Linked DNA regions of Homo sapiens: region 2 is linked to region 1. The links are contacts of gene promoters, found by promoter capture Hi-C in blood cells and fetal thymus (Javierre and others, 2016). All regions are on one chromosome and are shown on one strand. Each heading gives the region's core, a stretch centred on a gene start or on the middle of the fragment in contact. The rest is flanking DNA. Distances are from core to core; before and after follow the strand shown. Region 1 holds the start of SFRP1 (secreted frizzled related protein 1). Region 2 has its middle 5.8 kb from the start of GINS4.

Region 1 (5,449 bases), core at 1,488-3,987:
CTCTGTCATGTCAGTTGCATGTTTAAAGGGCCTTTGTTCTAGAACCTTCTGCTGTACACACAGGAGTGCGTGCACACACAAACACACACACACTTGCCATTAGGAAAAGGGGGACTGGATTTTGAAGTGCAAAGAGTTGACAATAAGTAAAAGGACAAAAGTACTGTATGTACCTCTGCAATACAAAGTCTTCAGGCTGTTCTGCCTGGTGCTGTTATGCAGCATGTGAATTTCCCGAGAGGACGGGGGGCGGGTGGTCCCTCTCCCACATCCCAGGAATGGATTAAAGTCTCTCGGTGGGACTGAGGTCTTAGGGTCCTTCCTTTCCAGCTGGGTCTGGGAGGAGTCAGGAGTGCACTGGATTTAGGATTTGGGGTCTTCTCCCATCACTCCCTGTTCCACGGAGAGACAACTGTGTTCCCAGCAGGGGTCAGTAAAGCAGTAGGACCACTAGGGGTGAGTGGGGGAGGTGGTGACTGGAGGTGATCAAAGTCTACTCGGAGTGACCAGACATAGGCGAGGTCTTCCCCTGAATGGATTTGTGAGATTTACTCCTGACTTGGGACTTCCAGGGCAGTCACCTGGACGAATTTCCAGCATTTAACCGTGGACAGACACAAGTCCTCCTGCCATTCGGGAAAACTGAAAACGTGAGTGAGCGGTCAGCTAAGCCTGGGTTCAGAGGTGAGAGGATGTTATCTGCAAACATCCATCTTTGCAGTGAGCAAACAGACGCATTTGGCTTGAGGTGGAGGGCCTGGCCCTAGGAGACAAAAAGACCCCCTACCAAACAGCATTTTTCTCTAAATGCCCCTTGAATTGAGACACAGTTGCCGGGTCTCCTGCGGTCTTATTCTCTGTGAGGAATGTCTTCCTCAGCTCCACAGGCCGGCCTCACCAATTGTCTTGGGATTAACCCTTGGCCATCCCGATCTTGCTCTCTCTTCTCTGTGTTTTCCTTCCAGCCTCCATGTCACCTTTTGAGTGTCAAGGCATCTTCCATTGGCCACGAAATGACAGAGAAGTCATCCATCTGCAGAAGCCTCCTGTGTGCACCGTGGAATCACCGTGTCTGTACGGGCACGAATGCTTTAAGAAAACAGCCCTGCTTCTTCACAAACTCTAGTCATTTCACTTGGAATCTGTCCATCAAGAAATTAGGTTTGCAGAGTCCAAAGCAAGCTCCCTAGAGCTTTACAAACAAGCTGGCGGGCAAGGCAGCGCGCCCTATAGTGTCTCTGTGGAGCGCTAAGATCTGTGACCCCTTTGCCACATGGGGTGTGCGCTCAGACTGGGCTATGAATATATCAGCCTCTCTCCACCCGCACTTAGGGACAGAAGATATGGAGACTCCAGGAACTTCATGAACTATTTGCTGTGGTCTTCTGTCCCGGGATAGTCCGGGTCTCACTCCCAGCTCTCCAGAGCTTAACCCTCCCTCTCAGGGGAATGTTTGAAACCTACGAAGAATTCTCAGGAATTCGAGGTAGAAGGTGGCAGAGAGACTTCTGTTCCTGGGGGCCGAGCTGTTGTGCTGATACCGTCCTCTTGGCGTCTGCCCTAGTGGGGACCCTTGATTTTAACTTGAAGTTCCTGGACTGGGTCTAACCTTAGCATGTGTGCCTGAGTGATGGACTTGGTATTTACACCAGCCACGCTGATAAGTGCACATGTGTTTTTAATGTTTTGGCTTTCCACACCACAAACACACAGATGTGCTGTCGCCCGGGCTAGGACTTGAGTAGGGTTTTTCTATTTAAATATATATTATATATTTAAAAAAGTGTCCTCCCAGAGCTAATACCGTTGCTAGCAGCTCTTCCTGCCGCCACACCGGGCAAAGTCCACCCACTGCCCCAGTGTTGAGGGCCACCATGGGCGGCCCCACCTGGAGAGGTGCTGCTCACAGCAAACAGCTCCAACTGCGCCTTCGCCTCGCCTTCCAGGGAGCCCAGCCAGGCCCACTGGGTATTTACAAGCAGACCTCCCTCGCTTCAGCCTTCCTGAACCCCTGTTAGTTGGGAAACCACCTGTCTGCACCGCAGCTAGAGAACCGAGGAGAGGAGCCGCTAGTCTAAAGGGCTGTTGGTTGAAATTAGGAAGCAGTGTAAAGAAAAAGAAAAAAAAAGTTTGGGAGGCCAAGGCAGGAGCATCACCTGAGGTCAGGAGTTCGAGACCAGCCTGGCTAACATGGTGAAACCCCGTCTCTACTAAAAATACAAAAAATTAGCGGGGGCATGGTGGCACGCGGCTGTAATCCCAGCTACTCGGGAGGCTGAGGCAGGAGAATCGCTTGAACCCGGGAGGCGGAGGTTGCAGTCAGCGGAGATAGCGCCATTGCACTCCAGCTTAGGCAACAAGAGCGAAACTGTCTCAAAAAAAAAAAGTCTTCATAATTTCATGGGTTTGCAAGTATGATCCAGGCTCCCCGCTTCTCTGCAAGCCAATGCGAGTTAATTACAGCGTCCGCCCTGGTCTCTCTCCACCCCACGCCGTGATCCATTCCCCTTCTTTTTCTCCCCTTGTCTCTTTCCTCCTCCCCCTTTTATTTATGTATTTTTGGTTTTGTTTTTTAAGGGGTGTTGAGCCGCGTCTGGTTCTAGTAAACCGAACCCGCTCGCGAGGGAGGCGATTGGCTCCCGCGCCGGTGACGGACGTGGTAACGAGTGCGGCTCGCCCCGCCGGGAGCTGATTGGCTGCGCGGGGCGGCTCCGAGGGCTCGGCCGTAGGAGCCCCGCGCACTCCAGCCCTGCAGCCTCCGGAGTCAGTGCCGCGCGCCCGCCGCCCCGCGCCTTCCTGCTCGCCGCACCTCCGGGAGCCGGGGCGCACCCAGCCCGCAGCGCCGCCTCCCCGCCCGCGCCGCCTCCGACCGCAGGCCGAGGGCCGCCACTGGCCGGGGGGACCGGGCAGCAGCTTGCGGCCGCGGAGCCGGGCAACGCTGGGGACTGCGCCTTTTGTCCCCGGAGGTCCCTGGAAGTTTGCGGCAGGACGCGCGCGGGGAGGCGGCGGAGGCAGCCCCGACGTCGCGGAGAACAGGGCGCAGAGCCGGCATGGGCATCGGGCGCAGCGAGGGGGGCCGCCGCGGGGCAGCCCTGGGCGTGCTGCTGGCGCTGGGCGCGGCGCTTCTGGCCGTGGGCTCGGCCAGCGAGTACGACTACGTGAGCTTCCAGTCGGACATCGGCCCGTACCAGAGCGGGCGCTTCTACACCAAGCCACCTCAGTGCGTGGACATCCCCGCGGACCTGCGGCTGTGCCACAACGTGGGCTACAAGAAGATGGTGCTGCCCAACCTGCTGGAGCACGAGACCATGGCGGAGGTGAAGCAGCAGGCCAGCAGCTGGGTGCCCCTGCTCAACAAGAACTGCCACGCCGGCACCCAGGTCTTCCTCTGCTCGCTCTTCGCGCCCGTCTGCCTGGACCGGCCCATCTACCCGTGTCGCTGGCTCTGCGAGGCCGTGCGCGACTCGTGCGAGCCGGTCATGCAGTTCTTCGGCTTCTACTGGCCCGAGATGCTTAAGTGTGACAAGTTCCCCGAGGGGGACGTCTGCATCGCCATGACGCCGCCCAATGCCACCGAAGCCTCCAAGCCCCAAGGTAAGGCTGCCTCCTCCCACGTGCGCGAGCCGCCCCCTCCATCCCCCGGCCGGAGCTGCAGGAGAACCCGCGCCACCCTACGCCCGCCCGCCGCTGGGTCCCGGTGCTGGGGACTGAGGGCCCGAGGTTGCTCGCATGCTGTGCACGTGATTCCTAAGCGCGTCTGGTCTGTCCCAGGTATCGCTCAGCGCCCCTCGCGACCCAGGTGCACGGCGGGGCTGGCCCGGGAGCGGCAGCTCTGCGCCTTGGCCTCGCAGGGACTCGCTGTGGTCCCCGGAGCCGCTCTTCCTGGGATCCAACTTCGCCTTTCCCATACCTGAAACAAAGCCTTGCGCTTTAAATAACAGGGGAGCTTCCCTCTCCTCTAGGAGGACTCCGAGTCCCTATCGAAGTTTTTAACCTCTGAGACGGGAGGAAAAAACAAAAACCCAAAGCGTAGAAAGTTCAGAAAGGCCGAGAGAATGCTTGGAGCAGCTTTTGTTTATTTTCATAGGTTCGACAAAGATTTAAAAAATAAAACCAAGCCCTTTCCTTCACTGGTCATTCAGTCAAGTAGCCTTGGGATTGCTGCAAAACTGGCTGAGAAAGTTTAGGAACCGTGGGGACTTCTGTTTCTCCACCCCTTCCAGGTACCAGCTCTGCCCTCGGAGGGCTGGGGGTGGAAAGTCTTTTCTCCCTCCCTCTAGCGTACCCCCTGCTTTTCTCATTTACACAAATCCTCAGCTCATTAGAAAGATAAAAATGTAATTAGCTCATTGTTCATCTCCTCCCGGGGAGAGCAGCTCTGCAAAATGCAGACTTTCCTAACAGCCTGAGGGACCGGCCCGAGGTTCCTCTCAAAACCCCCTTATGTTTAAAGAGCAATTCTTGAGGGGGAAGAAAAAAAAATCCTGGGAAGTCAAATAAAATGAAATAGATATAAAGATAAAATATACACATCACAGACCTGACTTCTATAGAAGTAAATTCAACCCAGAATTCTTTAGAAGCGAAGTTTAGGCTCTGAGGTGTGGAGAGGGTCAGGGATTGGGGAGCTGTACCCCAGCTGCGCTTAGCACAGACGCAGGCTTCCTGAGGGCTTTTTGAGGAGGGCCTTTAGGGTGGGGGAGAAAGACTGCCTACACTTAGCTCACCTTAAAGTGTCTTTAACCTCTGTTATTGATGCTAAAAGAGGGGAGTGCAGTCACCTGGCTCCTCAGAGTGAGGATTTGGGCAGGTGGGGGAAAGGGATACCCCAAATTTTAGATGCTTTTGCTTATTCTAGGGAGGGTGGAGATGGGTCCACAGTGACTGTCGTTGGATGGCTGGATGGGAACGGCACTGATTGCCCGCAGTGGCCAGGTCTGGGCACCGCTGCTCTCAGAGTCAACTCTGGTGTTGGGAGTGGAGTGAGGGTAGCGGATGCATCTGCACTTTGTGAGCGAGAACTGAGCAGTTACCTGGAGCAAACAAAGCGCCTTGTGTTCTGTTGGCTTGCACCCATCCCCTGCAGCCTGCGGGAATTTCCTTCTCCCCTTCCTCAGCCAGCGGGGATTAGCCCAGCCCTGCCCTGTGAGGCTGTGCCCAGCCCTGACCTGGAGTCCATTCCCAATGGCTTCCGATGGTCTCTTTCTGGGACCGTCTGCAGACATGAGTGGACACCTTAGGGGGCTCGGCTGCGGAAAAGGTGCTGCAGTCCACAGGGAACATGGGGGGATTGGACGGGTTGCCTGAAGAAGAGAGGAAAGAATCCCTCACCCCAGCCCCCAAAAGGCTGTGATGGGATGGGGAAACCCCATAATCGCTGTCTTCCGGACACCTTTTGCCCCTTGGCTGCAGTTCCACTGGTCGGCGCCCTTCTCAGCCTGGCTTGGAA
Region 2 (4,828 bases), core at 457-2,956, 210 kb before region 1:
ATCACCCAGGCTGAAGTGCAATGGTGTGATCGCAGCTCACTGCAACCTCTGCCTTCCAGGTTCAAACGATTCTCCCACCTCAGCCTCCCGAGTAGCTGGGACTACAGGTGCACGCCATCGCGCCTGGCTAATTTTTGTATTTTAGTAGAGATGGGGTTTTGCTATGGTTGCCAGGCTAGTCTCGAACTCCTGACCTCAAGTGATCCACCTGTCTCAGCCTCCCAAATTGCTGGGATTACAGGAGTGATCCAACCGCGCCTGGCTAATCACACCACCTTTTACACAAAATTAATATGTGTCTGCCTGAAGACAGAGGGACAGACCAAAAAATTGAGGGACCCGTTTCACTTCTAAGATCTTTGATTACAACTAATATTCATTAGACAAAAACACTTTTAGAGGAAATGAGTTGGCAGAAAAATATTTCTGCTGTGTAAAGAAGGGTTATTAAAAGAAATGCCAAAGCAACACACAAACTTTTGGTGTTGATCGTTTGGCACTGTAAAGTTCAGGAAGGTGGGAGAAAAGAGGTCTTCAATTACATTATATAGAATGAAGAGAAAAATCAGGAACACCTGGTTGATGTGCACCCACTGTCAAGAAGTGTTTTAGAAATAATAAGATAGCCATATAAATGGAATGCAATTCATTAAAATGATCACAGATAAAAGGTGATTACATAGATTATTATATTAGGAGGATGAAGTTTGTGGATAGAATTTGCAGGCAAGCTTAGATGATTTAAATTGCAAGATGAACATACTAACATGAATTCAGACAAGTAAAACATGAAGTTACCTCGAAAGAGAAGGAAAAAGCTACTGCCCAAAGTGGAAGAGGAAGATACAGAAAATAGGATCCTATACAACTGAAGAAAGTGACAAGCCACAGCAATATTCAGATATTCTCAGTGAAGATGTTAATGGAAATTATAGACACAGCAAATAGAAACAGCCAAAATATTTGTGGACAGCCATACGTTATTATTATTATTACTATTTTTTGAGACAGAGTCTCACTCTGTCGCCCAGGCTAGAGTACAGTGGCGTGATCTCGGTTCACTGCCAGCTCCGCCTCCTGGGTTTACGTCATTCTCCTGCCTCAGCCTCCCGAGTAGCTGGGACTACAGGCGCCTGCCACCACGCCCGATAATTTTTTGTATTTTTAGTAGAGACGGGGTTTCACCATGTTAGCCAGGATGGTCTGGATCTCCTGACCTTGTGATCCGCTCGCCTCGGCCTCCCAAAGTGCTGGGATTACAGGCGTGAGCCACTGCACCTGGCCCAGTGGTACATTATTTTTATTTTTTGAGACAGAGTCTCGCTCTGTTGCCCAGGCTGGAGTGCAGTGGCATGATCTTGGTTCACTGCAACCTCTGCCTCCCAGGTTCAAGCGATTCTCTTGCCTTGGCCTCCAGAGTAGCTGAGATTACAGGCATGTGCCTCCATGCCCGGCTAATTTTTGTGTTTTTAGTAGAGATGGGGTTTCCCCATGTTGGACAGGCTGGTCTTGAACTCCTGACCTCAGGTGATCCGCCCACCTCAGTCTTCCAAAGTGCTAGGATTATAGGCATTGCACCTGGCCAAAAAGATACATTATTAATGAGAACAAATTTAATGTTTTAATCACCAAGGAAAAACAACAGTAAATACTGTATATCTATACAGAATTGTGAGCTTTCTGGAGAAAGATGCTTTCAGAATACAAGTAATGGCATTATTATTGTTCTCATATCAGTGCCCTTGCTTGTTTGGTCAGCAGCTGTTTCTCAGGGGTCCCTTTTTCTGAATTCCATCACAATCTTGGTCTCACTGCCCTGGAAACCAAAGAATTAAGATTTGGGAGTGTTTTAGTTAAGTTGAGTTTAACTCCCGGTTTTTCTGAATGCATGAAGATTGGCACTACAGACAGCCATGTAAGAGGACAGCTTGCATTTTTTTTTTTTTTTGAGACGGAGTCTTGCTCTGTTGCCAGGCTGGAGTGCAGTGGCATGATCTCGGCTCACTGCAATCTCCGCCTCCTGGGTTCAAGCGATTCTCGTGCCTCAGCCTCCCGAGTAGCTGGGGCTACAGGGGTGTGCCACCATGCCTGGCTAATTTTTGTATTTTTAGTAGAGACAGGGTTTCACCATGTTGGCCAGGATGGTCTCGATCTCCTGACATGATGATCCACCCGCCTTGGGCTCCCAAAGAGCTTTAAGGAAGGCAGAAAAGTGTGCTTACGCTGTTTTCTCTTAGGCTCATAAGGAAAGCTATTGGCTGGTGAACTTATACGTATTTTTCTGGCCAATGATAACACCCAATGCCAGCTGCATGGCCAGGATGCTGGAGAACTCAGGAAGCCGGGCAAGGCTTGGGTCTCCCTTACAAATGGAAAATCTGGGCAATTTATGATATTCCTAATTCCTTTGCTCTCCTCAGACCCTAGGTCCTCTGAAACTCTGTAAGGAGATATAAGAACTATCTGCCCCTTTGCTTGTTGTAGAATATACAATAATCATAAAAAATTTTTAAAAATTAAATATATCTTATGAAACACTGTGGCCAACATAGCATGTAGCTGGTTGAGTAAGATTATTTTCCTAATGCTTTTCTGAATATGTCAAGCAAAGAGAAAGGTGACCTTTCCATAAAGAAATTCATGTGCCTTTATATCATGGGCATCTTTGATGAGAAGCTTATGTGCCCAAGTGTTGGGCAAGTCTTATTTATTTATTTATTTATTTGTGATGGAGCCTCACTCTGTTGCCCATGTTGGACTGCAGTGGCATGATCTCGGCTCACTGCAACCTCTGTCGCCCGGGTTCAAGTGATTCTCCTGCCTCAGCCTCCTGAGTAGCTGGGATTACAGGTGCCTGCCACTGCGCCCCGCTAACTTGTATATTTTTAGTAGAGACGGGGTTTCTTGGTCAGGCTGGACTTGAACTCCTGACCTTGTGATCCACCTGCCTCAGCCTCCTAAAGTGCTGGGATTACAGGCATGAGCCACTGTGCCCAGCCTAAGGCTTCATATTTATTAAAGTCTATATAGTTTAGCTGAGAGATCTTGAGGGACTTGTCCTAAGGTCTAAATAAAAGCCAGGCCAAATTCAATCTCTCTTTCTCTCTGGCTGGAGTGCAGTGGGACAGTCATGGCTCACTGCAGCCTCAAACTCCTGGGCTCAAGCAATCCTCCCACCTTGGCCTCCCAAGTAGCTGGGACCACAGGTGTGTACCACCGTGCCTGGCTAATTTTTTTTTTTTTTTTTGTGGAGACGGGGGTCTCACTATGTTGCCCAGGCTGGTCTTGAAGTCCTGGCCTCAAGCGATCCTCCTGCCTCAGCCTCCTAAAGTGTTTGGGGTTACAGACATGAACCTCTGCACCCGGCCCAAACTCAGTATTTCTAAATGCTTGCACCTTAGGGCAATGCGTGCTCTCTCTCTCTCTCTTTTCCTATAGTGATGGGAAAAGGTCTGATTATAGTCAAAGTAAAGGGTAAAAGGTAGCCTTGTTCAAGAATGTGCCCCGTATCAAAATTTCATTTATTGTCTTGAATTTTAATGTCTTTCTTTTCTTTGTGTTAATGAATCATAGACATGGGCACCATTTTGATAACTTTTTAAATTAATTTATTTTATTTTTCGAGATAAGGTCTTGCTCTGTCACTCAGGCTGGAGGGCAGTGGTGTGATCTTGGCTCACTGCAGCCTCCACCTCTTGGGTTCAAGCGATTCTTGTGTCTCAGCCTCCCCTATAGCTGGGATTACAGGTGTGTGCCACCATGCCTGGGTAATTTTTGTATTTTTAGTAGAGACAGAGTTTTGCCATGTTGGCCAGGTTGGTCTTGAACTCCTGACACCAAGTGATCTGCTCCCCTCAGCCTCCAAAAGTGCTGGGATTACAGGCATGAACCACTGTACCCGGCCCGTTTTGTGAAATTTAGGCTAACAGTTATTGAAATAATTGTTTTCTGTGGGAGAACTCTTAGAATAAAATTCATTCATCTATATATGTTGACCCTTGAACAACTTGGATTTGAACCGCTGGGATTCACTTATGTTGGGTTTTTTTTCAAGTAAGTTACACCAGTGTGCTTGCCTCCTTTTCCACCTCCTCCACCTCATCTGCCTCTGCCACCCATGAGACAGCAAGACCAACCCCTCCTTCCTTCTTTTTACAATTTTTATTTATTTTTTATTAGTTTTTGTACAGATGAGGTCTCCCTAGGTTGCCCACGTTGGTCTCAGACTCCTGGTCTCAAGCAATCCTCCCGCCCAGGCCCTGCAAATTGCTGGGATTACAAGCGTGAGCCACCGCGCTCGGCCCCCTCATTCCTTCTTATGAAGACCTTTATGATGCTCCACTTCCACTTCATGAATAGTAAATATATTTTCTCTACCTTAGATTCTTAGTAACATACTCATTTCTCTAGCTTACTTTATTGTAAGAATACAGTATGTAACACATATAACGTTAAAATGTGTTAATTGACTGTTTATGCTATGGGTAAGGGTTCCAGTCAACAGTAGGCTATTAGTAGTTAAGTTTTTGGGGAGTCAAAATTTGTACGTGGCTGGGTGCAGTGGCCCACACCTGTAATTCCAGCACTTTGGGAGGCTGAGGCAGGCGGATCACTTGAGGTCAGGAGTTTCAGACCAGCCTGGCCAACATGGTGAAACCCTGTCACTACTAAAAATACAAAAATTAGCTGGGTGTGGTGGCACGTACTTGTAATCCCAGCTACTCAGGAGGCTGAGGTGGGAGGATCGCTTGAACCCGGGAGGCAGAGGTCGCAATGAGTCGTGCCACTGCACTTTAACCTGGGATACAGGGGGAGACTCCACCTCAAG

Evidence for each region. Contacts are between HindIII fragments. The CHiCAGO score rates a contact against its expected background, and 5 or more counts as called.
Region 2: a contact is called between a fragment that was not itself captured here and the fragment with the promoter of SFRP1 in region 1, in 1 of 17 cell types (endothelial precursors). The highest score is 5.3, in endothelial precursors.

Annotation. Positions count from the first base shown.
Region 1 is chr8:41,306,761-41,312,209 of GRCh38, reverse strand. It overlaps SFRP1 (secreted frizzled related protein 1), which reads left to right and starts at 2,737. Exons shown (of 3, transcript NM_003012.5): 1 at 2,737-3,594. The coding sequence starts at 3,051. RefSeq lists enhancers at 570-1,097, 3,017-3,787, 3,788-4,559. The HindIII fragment of the contact is 12,075 bases long and covers 1-5,449 here.
Region 2 is chr8:41,521,096-41,525,923 of GRCh38, reverse strand. No RefSeq gene overlaps it. Among named protein-coding and RNA genes, the nearest start is that of GINS4, 5.8 kb to the left of the region's middle. The HindIII fragment of the contact is 1,945 bases long and covers 734-2,678 here.